Linked DNA regions of Homo sapiens: region 1 is linked to region 2. Evidence: promoter capture Hi-C in 16 types of primary human blood cells and fetal thymus (Javierre and others, 2016). All regions are on one chromosome and are shown on one strand. The core of a region is centred on a gene start or on the middle of the fragment in contact, and the rest is flanking DNA. Distances in the headings are between cores, read along the strand shown. Region 1 overlaps WDR7 (WD repeat domain 7). Region 2 holds the start of ST8SIA3 (ST8 alpha-N-acetyl-neuraminide alpha-2,8-sialyltransferase 3).

The links. The method cuts DNA at HindIII sites, captures the fragments that hold promoters and counts their contacts. A CHiCAGO score of 5 or more calls a contact.
Region 1: a contact is called between a fragment that was not itself captured here and the fragment with the promoter of ST8SIA3 in region 2, in 2 of 17 cell types (endothelial precursors and M1 macrophages). The highest score is 5.5, in endothelial precursors.

The regions. Positions count from the first base shown.
Region 1 is chr18:56,764,386-56,770,245 of GRCh38, forward strand. All of the region lies in intron 16 of WDR7 (WD repeat domain 7), which reads left to right. Among named protein-coding and RNA genes, the nearest start is that of WDR7, 120 kb to the left of the region's middle. The HindIII fragment of the contact is 257 bases long and covers 1,379-1,635 here.
Region 2 is chr18:57,348,717-57,354,126 of GRCh38, forward strand. It overlaps ST8SIA3 (ST8 alpha-N-acetyl-neuraminide alpha-2,8-sialyltransferase 3), which reads left to right and starts at 3,841. Exons shown (of 4, transcript NM_015879.3): 1 at 3,841-4,309. The coding sequence starts at 4,131. The HindIII fragment of the contact is 6,120 bases long and covers 2,484-5,410 here.

The DNA.
Region 1 (5,860 bases), core at 257-2,756, 590 kb before region 2:
GGCATTTGTTTCAATTGATTGTGTTTATATATGGGCCAATAACATTGCGTACATTTATAGTGTACAACATGATGTTTTGATACATGTGTACATTGTGGAATGGCTAAATCTAGCTAATTAACATATCTATGACCTCATATATGTATCATTTTATGTGTGTTGAGAACACTTAAAATTACTCCCTCAGCAATTTTTAAGTATATAATACATTGTTACTAACTATAGTCTCCATGTTATACAATGTGAATCCTTTTGAATTTATTGAGACTTGTTTTATGGCCCAAAATATAGTCTGTCTTGGTAAATATACTGTGTGTACTTCAGAAGAATGTGTATTCTGCTGTTGTTGGGTGGAATATTTTATAACTGTCAGTCAGGTCAAGTTGCCCGTGTTCAAGTTTAGTATATACTTGCTGATTTTTCTGCCTGCTTGCCTTTATCAATTAAATAAGAGTATTGAATCTGCAGCTATAATTATGGGTTTGTTTATTCCTTCTTGCATTTCTATCCCAGTTTTTGCTTCATGTATTTTGAAGCTCTCTTATTAGGTGCATAAACCTTTGGAATTTTTATTTCTTCTTGATTATTTGACCCTCGTCATTATGAAATGACCTTCTTTATCCTTGGTAATGTCCTTTGCTTTGAAATTTACTTTGTTTATAATAATACAGTAATTTCAGCATTTTTGGCTACTGTTAACATAGTATAATCTTTTCTCATCCTTTTACTTTTTACCTATTTGGCTCTTTATATTTAAGATGTGTTTCTTGTGGGCAGCATATAGTGGGTCTTATTTTTTAATCCAATCTGACCTGCTTTTTACTTGAGATGCATAAGCCGTTTACATTTAATGTGATTGTTGATATGGTTAGGTTTGAATCTGTTATCCTACTACCTTATTTTTCTCTTCGTTGCATTTATTTTTTGTTCTTTTTCTTTTTCTGCTGTCTTTTAGACTAAAAAGATTTTTTTTATGATTCCATTTGATCTCCTTTATGGCTTTATAAGCTAATTTTTATTATTTTAGTAGTTTTTTTAGAGTCTGTAGTCTATGTCTTTCCGTTATCACAGTGTACATTCAAGTGCTATTATACTATTTAACATTTAATATAAATGTTAAACCTTATAATATTATATTAGCATTTCTCATCTCCTGGTCTTTATGCTACTGTTGTCCTGCATTTTACTTTTATATATGTTATAAACCTCACAAATTATTCTTGTGATTTGTGTTTAACAGTAATTATATTTTAAAGAGACTGAAATAAGAAAAAATACATATTTACCCACGTAGTTACCTTTTTTGGTATTCTACATTCCTTTGTGTAGATCAAGACTTCTATCTGGTAAAATTCTTCTAACAAAAGGACTTACTTTAAGCTTTCTTTTTATGTATGTATATATGTATGTATGTATGTATCTATCTATCTATTTATTTATTTATTTAAGTTCTGGGATCCATGTGCTGAACGTGCAGGTTTGCTACATGGATACACATGTGCCATGTTGTTTTGCTGTACCTATCAAGCTGTCATCTAGGTTTTAAGCCCTGCATGCTAATCTTTCTTTTAGTGAGCGTCTGCTCTTCAAGTTTTTGTACATTTGAAAACATCTTTGTTTGTCTTTGTTTTTGAAAGCTTTTTTTTTTTTCTGGTATAGAATTCCAGGTTGACTTTTTATATCTTTTAATGCTTTGAAGATGATATTCTGTTGTCTTCTTGTTTGCATTAGTTCTAACAAGATCTGATAGCATTCTTATCTTTGTTCCTCTGACTGTAACATTACTTTATTAATCTTGTTGCTTTTAAGATTTTCCGTTTATCACTGGTTTTGAGCAGTTTGATTGTGTGGTTCTTCAGTGTAGTGTTCTTCATGTTTCTTGTGGTTGGGGTTCATTGAGTTTATTAATTTTGAAAAATTTTCAATAATTATTTCTTCAAATATTCATTCTGCCCTTTCCTCCCTCCTCTCTCTAAGGGACTGAAATTACATGTACGTTAGGCTGATTGAAGTTGTTTCACCTATCACGGTGCTCTTTTATTTCGGGATTATTTTTCCTCTCTGTGTTTTGATTGAGATAGTTTCCATTGCAATGTCTTCAAGTTTATTAGTCTTTTCTCAGCAATGTGTAATATGCCATTGGTCCCATCCAGTGCACTTTAAAAATTTATTTTTATTTTTTTTTATAGAGACAGTGTCTCGCTATGTTGCCTAGGTTGGTCTTGAACCCCCAGGCTGCAGCAATTTTCCCTGTTTGGCCCCCTCAAAGTGCTGGGATTGCAGGCATGAGTGACCATGCCCAGCTGTCATCCAATTCACTTTTAATCTCAGACATTGTTATATGTGTCCCCAGAATTTTGATTTGGGTCTTAAAATTTTTTTTCCTTGTCTCTACCTAACTGCTTTGAATACATGGATTGCAGTTATAATAAATGTTTTAACACCCTTCACTGATAATTTTGATAGCTCTGTCAGTTCTGGGTTGGTTTAAATTAATTATTCTCCTCCTTGTGGACTGTGCTTTCCTGCCTCTTTGCGTGTTTGATAATCTTAGAATAGATGGGAGATGTTTGAATTTTGCCTGTTTGGGTGCTGGACACTTTTGTGTTCTTAAAAATCTTGAGCTTTGTTGTGGGATGCAGTTATGTCATGTGGAAACAGTTTCTTTTTTTTCCTGGTCTTGCTTTTATGACTTGTTAGGTGGATTTGGAGCAGTGCTCTAAGATGAATTACTCCCTATTACTGAGGCCAAACCTTCCAGAATATCCAATGCCCTGTGAATTATGAGGTTTTCCATTTAGGCTGTTGGGAGCAGGCACTGTTTCTGGTCCTTTAGATATTTTCCCCCCAGCTCGAGTAGTTTCTTTACAGACATGTACTGATTGGTATTCTGCTGTATACTTGAGGGAGATCCTCTGAAGAACTTTGATCTTTGCAGCTCCCTTCTTTCTGTACATTGAATTCTAGCTGCCCTGGTTTCCTGAGACTCTCAGCTTTGTCTCCTGAACTCAGGGAAACTGCTGGGCTGCTCACTTTGTTCTCCATGTAGCTTCACCTAGGAACTCTCTTAAGGCAATAAGCTGGGGTAATCATAGGATCACAGGGCTCACGTTGCTTGTCTCCCATCTCTCAGTCCTTCATTGCATGATGCCCAGTGGCTTGAAAACCATTGTTCATACATTTTGTCATTTTGTTTGTTTGTTTTTGGTTGTTTTGGGCCTGACTGCAAATCTGTTTCTTGTTACTCCATCTTGGCCAGAAGTGGAAGTTCCTTTCCCTTTATTTAAAAATGTTCCAAATATCTATTATTTTATAAAGTAAATATTATTTGTATATATGGAGTTGTGATATTTTTAGAGTGTTATTACTGGTAGAAATGGAAACAGGCTTATACTGGCAAGGGACTTGTTTAATGTATTCTTAGTAATGGTAGTATGATTAGGACACAACCAGCACTTTTTAACTCTAGATCCCGTGCTTTTTCTGCAACAGTATATGTTTTATTTTTCTGAATTCATTGACAATATTTTCCAGGATATACTCAACGAATCAATGGTGGGACGATTCAATATTTATTTCTGTTAGAGATATTATTTGTTATCCTCCTCATCATCTTCATTATGATTCTTAACAGTTGGTGATTCTTCTTGAATTACATTTTTCCTTCTCTGTAATCATAATAGATGGAAACATTCTCATATAATTTGTGACATTGTCATGATGCATTATATATTCACCACCATGATGGTGTTAGATTTGCTCACCTGGTCAAGTCTGAAGATTTTTAAAGTTCGAATACTTTAATATTGCTTCTCTCAGAAAAGCATTGAGTTTTGAGAGCAGTGAAGGCGGCTTTGAAAATTGGGTCTTTTTAAAAAAAAGCATTTATTTAAGGCAATAGATTTAGGAATTTTCATTTGGAAAGCATATATACTTTTCTTCTAAAGTAAATGAAGGCCAGCAGTTCCTACTGAGAGAGAGCTACATAGTAAAATACTTTAGAATACCATTATGAAGCTCACTTTCTATTTTAATATTGAAATAAATATATAGTGTTAATTGTTTTCTCAAAAATATTAAGTTATTTTTGTCTCCTAACAACTCTTGTTAGGGAGGTTAGAGAGATTGGTCTGACATGTACTCTCTTGAGTAGTATGTGTCTAGTCGGTAACATGAACATAAATAACCAATTTAGGGTTGGAAGTGGTAAGAGATACAAAGGACTCTGAGTTGTCTAATATTTCAGCAGTTAGAGCATTATTTTTTCATCTTTCTACTTTGGCTTTTCTTAGCTTGGTTTGCTTCTAAACATTTTCCTCTTATGTTTTTTATTTCCTGACTTCCTCTACTGTGCACATTGACTTACAATGTCTTTTTAAGTTGTATTGCAAACATGAATATGCGTCTTTTCAATAAGCTGTCACTTGCATGTTGGCTAATACTTGTTCAGCTGCCAAATAATCTATATGAAGTAAAGACTTCAGCTGGGGATTGGAACTTTGATAGACATTTGGGTTTGAGAATAAAGATAGTTAAGATAGTTCAGCTTATATAATTTTCCATAACCAATATTAGGGCACTTCATTGGAAAATAGTATCTTCACAAGAGGTTTATTTTGCCTAACAGTGGACTTGTTAATTCAATGTTTGTCAATAATTAACATTTATTGTCACTTGTCTACTTTTTTTTATACAGTTTATTTTTTTTGACACTTGATTTTGCGGTTTATGAAACATGCTACTTGAGAAAAAGGGATTAGAGTTATCAAATAACCACACTTTTATTCATGGTAAATATAGCTGTAAGTCTGCTCATGGCTTTAGGCTTTTCTGCTTTTTTTTTTTTTCCTTTGAGACGGAGTCTCACTCTCTTGTCCAGGCTGGACCGCAGTGGTGCAATCGTGGCTTACCGCAGCCTCGACTTCCAGTCGAGGCTCTTGAATAGTTGGGACTATAGTCAAAGGCCACCATGCCCAGTTAATTTTAAATTTGTTGTAGAAATGGAGTTTCACCATATTGCCCAGGCTGGTTTCGAACTCCTGGGCTCAAGTGATCCTCCCACCCCAACCTCCCAAAGTGCTGCGATTACAGGAGTAAGCCTCTGTGCCTGACTGTTCTACGTTCTAATGTACTGTATTTCTCTCTATTCATTAATCTCATGACGTAAGTCTCTGGTCTGTGTCTCTAGTGCTTATCTTGATTGTGACCATATCTTTATGTTTAGTAGTTGCATCTTTACTCAGTGGGAGGTGCCCAAGCAAGTTTAAGCAATGTAAAGTTTAAGATTATGTTATGTTCTTTGCAACTTTATTTTTCAGAAATGGGTTCAATTTAGGTTGTCTAAACTTAGAAGTAAGAGGTGGTCATTGTTAAATTATCTCAGGAAAGAGTTATATAAATTAAACAATAGTTTAATCACTATTCTTTTCCAGGATTTATAGAGAAATAAACAGTACTTAACATAGAGTCCATACATCATATTAAGGAATGTATCTGAGAATCCCTTAAAATTTGGCGGATTTGACTTTCTGTGCCTTTATTTTTTTTAATTGGTGTACACCTTTGATTTGCTGTGGAAGCTCAAAGGGTAGGGACATTTTTTTTCTGCTTTGTTTAGTGATTTATCCCAAGTGCTTGGAACAGTGGCTGATACATAGAAGGAGCTCAGGAAATATTTACTGAATGAATGAATCTACAGATAACCTTCTCTTTATGTTTCTGGAGTCAGTATGTCAATAACTACGTGCTGAGGCTGTAAGGGCTGACAAATCTCTGCCCTCAAGGTGCTTATTATGTCTATTGGAGAAAATCCACAGGAGTGCAATTTATGATAATATTTTAATTGGTTATTATATGCTTT
Region 2 (5,410 bases), core at 2,591-5,090:
GCTGGGATTACAGGGGCCCACCACTGCACTAGGCTAATTTTTGTATTTTTAGTAGAGACAGGGTTTCATCACATTGGCCAGGCTGGTCTCAAACTCCTGACCTCAAGTGATCTGCCCGCCTCTGCCTCCCAAAGGAACAATGTTGTTTCTAACAAAATACACCACCTTTCCTGGCCTTCCCACCTAAATGGGTTCCTGGAAATTGTTCTTGGCCAGTATGGGTTGGTGAGGGGCTAGCCAGGGAGCAGAGTCATGTTCGCAAAAGGTGGGCACTCATGAGAGTGGAAGAAGGGAAGTAAGTTCCTATGTCTAGAATAACACTCTCCTAGAAAACATTACATCTGGGGGATTTTTCATTTCTGTGCTTCTTATTTTCACTCGCCTATACTCTTGCACAGGATTGATTTCCAATGAAATTTGATAAGTGATATTTTGTTAAAATGTCCTGATTTTTTTTAATTATTAAATAGCTATAATCCCAGGCCTGAAAAATCCCTTATCCAGTAGCTACAGTTGTTTTTTGAAGCACCGCCACCAAAATTATTCCCCTGGTAATTATTGAGCAATCCGTTTTCACCCATAAGCCTGTCACATGTAATAAGGATGCCTGCCTGCCTGTTTATTTTCTGGCTAATTTGGTCCCTTTACATCATGTGACCTTCAGTGGCCTGTATGCAATATGAAAATCGTCCTCCTAGGACTTTCTTTAGAAGGTTCACAGAGGTGTGCTAAGCATAAGTAATACATCAGTTTTTAAATCCAGGCAGAGCGAACCCATATCAGATGTCTCAGGAAAGCCTGCAATGCTGTTTTATAAAGGGAACAGAAGAGTTTCTTGATCTTTGCTATTCTCTGCAAGAAAATATCTCACCTAAGTACATCCTTTCGTATGCACTCTGTAGCAGGACATTTACAGGGTCAGAGAAAAAGACACTAAAAACTTACCCAAGCTGTTAGCTCATATTTATTAACTGCTTAATATAGGCCAGGGTGCAAAGGCCTTTATATGCTTTGTTTAATCTTCCCCCAAACCCTGGGAGATTTTTATCCCAGTTCTGCAGATTAGCAGACTGAAACACAGAGAAGTTGTAACTTACCCAAGGTCACCTGGCTGTGGATGCCAGAGTAAGCATTTATTTTAATTGATACATAATAATCATACATATATAGGTACATAGTGATATTTTGATACATACAATACATAGTGATCCCATCAGGGTAATTAGCATATTTGTCATTTCAAACTTGTATCATTTCTTTGTTTTGGGGCATTCAATATCTTCTCTTCTAGGTATATGAAAATATACAATACATTATTGTAACTATAGTCATCCTATAGTGCTATAGAACACTAGAACTTATTCCTTCTATCCAGCTGTAATTTTGTATCCTTTAATAAATATTTTATCCTCTCTCCCCCGTACACTTCCCAGCCTCTAGTATTCTCTGTTCTACTTTTTACTTCTTTGAGATCAGCTTTTTTAGCTTCTGTGTATGAGTGAGAACATGCGGTGTTTAACTTTCTGTTCCTGGCTTATTTCACTTAACATAATGTCCTCCAGGCTCATTCCTGTTGCTGAGAATGACAGAATTTCATTCTTACTTATGGATGAATGGGATTCCTTTATGTATATATACCACATTTTCTTTATCCATTCATCTGTTGTTGAATACTTGGGTTGATCCATATCTTGGCTATTGTGAACAATGTGGCAATAAACATGGTGGTAGATATCTCTTTGACATACTGATTTCCGTTCCTTTGCATAAACGCCCAGTCATGGGAATACTGGATCTTATAATAGTTCAGTTTGTAGTTTTTTTCAGGTACCTCTGTACTGTTCTCCATAGTGGCTGTACTAGAATGCATTCCCACCAACAGTGTATACGAGTTCCCTTTTCTCTGCATCCTTGCCAGCATTTGTTATTTTTTGTGTTTTTGATAATACCCAGAGTATGCTTTTGAAGTCAGGTCTTTCTGGCTCCACAGTCTGAAGGTGTAACACTACCCCAGGCTGCCTCTCCATAGCATGTTTCCTGATTTCTGGTTCAAGAAGACTTTTTCTAACAGGTGTCATTCCTAGATGGCTCTCTTAAGATCTTACTCCCTTTGGCATTTTACACCTTACTCATACAATCATTTTTAAAAAATAGCAATTTAAAAAAATACAGTTCAAGTGTTCATCATATCCAGGCATGCAAGCCTTTTCTAAATTTTTTTAAATAATAAAAAAGCCCCACAGAGGAAAGGAGGTTATTTGTGTCCTCCTGACACACACTTTTAGATTTTGGTTAAAAAGTCTCTAGTGGGTGCAAAGTGACCCCCTTTGTCACTGGAAACAAATAGGAGCATTCTTTGTGCCACTGTCCACAACCACACAGATATGTTTCCCAAGGGAGCTCATCAGGTCTTCAAACATTTAGCAAGCATGACATGTGTAAGAGACAGTATTGGAGAAGTAAGACAAGCCTTGCTCTGCCGAAGCTTACAATCCAGGAGCTCACCCCTTCAAGGAATTTACAGCCTCCAGACAGATAATAACATTAGGTCCATGAAAGCCTACAAGGCAAGAAGTTCAGGAGAGAAAGAAGTCATAACCATCTTGGAAGAATCTCAACTTGTTTTATCAGAACTCAAACGCCAATTTCTCACCCCTAGCTTCCCTCATTAGTGCTTATTAACTAGTATTGGGAGGACCAAGCGAAGAGTAAAGCTAGGGTAGCAGAGGCCATAAGCTAATTGCAAAGGACAGAGCTAAAGAAACATGCTAGTTTCCCCTGAGCACCCAACTGCATGACTGAAAATGGATTAATTTGTATTTCTAATGGATATACAAGAAACACGTGAATATGCTAAAATAAATTTAAGGTCAAGCAATGCAAAGTGTTAGTGCGTTTGCCTTCCACTCTCAGAGGCAGCCTCTATTATTTGGTTCTTGGGCTGCTTCATAAAAAGTTCTGTGTTTTTTAATGGCCTCAGCTTTTGGGAGGCTCAGGCCACCTAGCCCATCAGGAGACCAGGCCCGAAGGATGGATCTGAAGAGTGGGCAACGGAGAGTTAAACCAGGGCTGACTTCAACAGGCCCAGTCAAGTCAGGGGCAAGCACATTGTCCATCCACTGGAAGACGGAAAGGGGAGAGGAAGGCAGGCCCTCCCGACTCACAGGTCACCTCGCAACTTTGCTAGGCACTACCCACCCTTTAGGGATAAGTGAAGTATGTGGTGGGCATACAAGGCGCACAGGGGAGTCATTCTGGCAAATTCCAAGAAGGTTTTAAGGGCTCCCGAGGCAGGCAGGCCCAGTTGCTGTTTGGAGCTTCCTTTGGGGTGGGAGGATGGCGGGGGCAGGGGGCCGGGGCGGTGCCTTAACGAGGGGAGATGCTTTTAAATAGCTGCCTTCCAAAAACCATCCTCCCTGCTTCTTTGAGAAGCACCCAGCTGTTGTTTACCCTCCAGGACAGCAAATCCGGTTATTTGTCTCTCTATTCCGTGATATTATAAAGTAATGAATGGTCCATTAAACTAAGTTTGGGATCCCGTCTCCCCACAGCCACCTCCTCGCCGGCACCCTCAGCCGGGGAGGCCGTAGGCTCGGGCTGCAGCCTGGCAGCCTCAGTCCCCCTCCCTCCACCATTTCCCTCTACTCCCTCCCTCTCCTGCACCCCCTCCCCCCGGTTATTTGGGAGATTAGAGTTCATTAATTAAATCCTGTGCTTAGATCGAACTGTAACATTATTCCAATCACATTTATCTTGCAGGCGGCGGAGGAGATGGCAGCCTCGCTGGAAACGCGCGGGGGAGCCTGAGCCGGCGGCCGGGGACGCACGGCGCTGCGCGCTCCTTCGCCACGCCGCCGCGCAGCCCCTCCATCTTCCTGCTCGGCACCGGGCCCCGCGCGCCCCTGCCTACGGGGTCCCGCTGCTCTCCGGGGCTCCTGCCAGCCCCAACCCCCGGCCCCGGTGGCCTCCCCCCACCCCCGCCCGGGTCCCCCTCCTCCGCCACACGCGCGCGCGCTCACACACACACACACACACACACACACACACACACACATATATACACGCCAGCGAGCTGCTGGCCGCTCAATGGACCGATTTCCCCGGTTTCCCTGAACCCAGCCCAGCCCGGGATGAGAAACTGCAAAATGGCCCGGGTCGCCAGTGTGCTGGGGCTGGTCATGCTCAGCGTCGCCCTGCTGATTTTATCGCTCATCAGCTACGTGTCCCTGAAAAAGGAGAACATCTTCACCACTCCCAAGTACGCCAGCCCGGGGGCGCCCCGAATGTACATGTTCCACGCGGGATTCCGGTGAGTGCGGGCCTCTGTGTTAGTGCCCTCGGGAATTTGGTTGATGGGGTGTTTGGGGAAGGGAAGGCGTGGGGGAGGGGTGTTTTGGCCTCTCCGAGACTCTTTGGGCCAGATAACTGCGCGGTCCTTCCACTCCTCTCTCTAATTCTCCCTTCCCCCTCCCTGTTATTTTTTTTTTAACCCAAAGCCCCTAGAAGCCGCTGTCCAAATCGATGTGATTGCATTTCTCGTATTCTTCCTCAGCATCCCTTCCCTCATTTCAGAAATGGGGGTTGGGGGAGGCTTTCAGGAGGGTGAGGGTGGAGGGAAAGACGGTGTGTTTGTTCGGGAGGGGGCGGCGAGCAGAGATGGACAGGCGTGAGGGGAGCGCCCTCCCCGCGCCCTGTCCGCAGACTCCGCGGGCCGGGCCCGGGGCGGTGCTGGCGGTTTAATGGCGCAGGCGCCGGACTCCCCTCGCGCCCTCCTCCTTTACTCCCCCACGCCTATCAAAGGACACGCGGGTTTATTCTCAGGAAGCCCCTGGGGCGTTCTCTCTCAACCCTTTCCCCCGCAGCCACCGCCCCCCACCAGCTTTCCGGGATTTCTGCAATTCCCCCGCCCCCTGCGGGAAGCGAGCCTCGGAAGGGCCGCCCACCCTCGCCAGGTCGGAGTCACCGCTCCGCGCTGGGCCGGCCTGTGAAGGCTCCAGGCGCAGCTTGACGCCGCTCTGCGAGAGCCCCCGCCCCGCTCTGTGACCCCGGGAACTCTCCCAGCAGGGCCTCCTGACGGGCAGGTGGCAACTACAAAGTGCCACCTGTGGTCCAAGCTGGGACCGAGGCGAGGAACCCAGAGGAGCCTCGCCTGGACCGAGGAGCGGAGTAGGCCGGCGGCCCCCGGGGGTCCCCAGCCAAGTTATAGGAAGTGAAATCGGACGTGGGTTTGGGAAGGAAGAGGTTAAGGCAGGAACCACCCCCAGACTTTCCCTGGGTCTCCGGTTTCCTCTGCCCTTTCTCCAAAAACAATTCTATGGGGCTGCAAAGGCGTAGCGGGTCAGGCTGGCGGGGCGGCCGCTGTCCGCGGTGCTGATTCCCTGGTCCTCGCAGCGCCGCGGGCTCCAGCCCT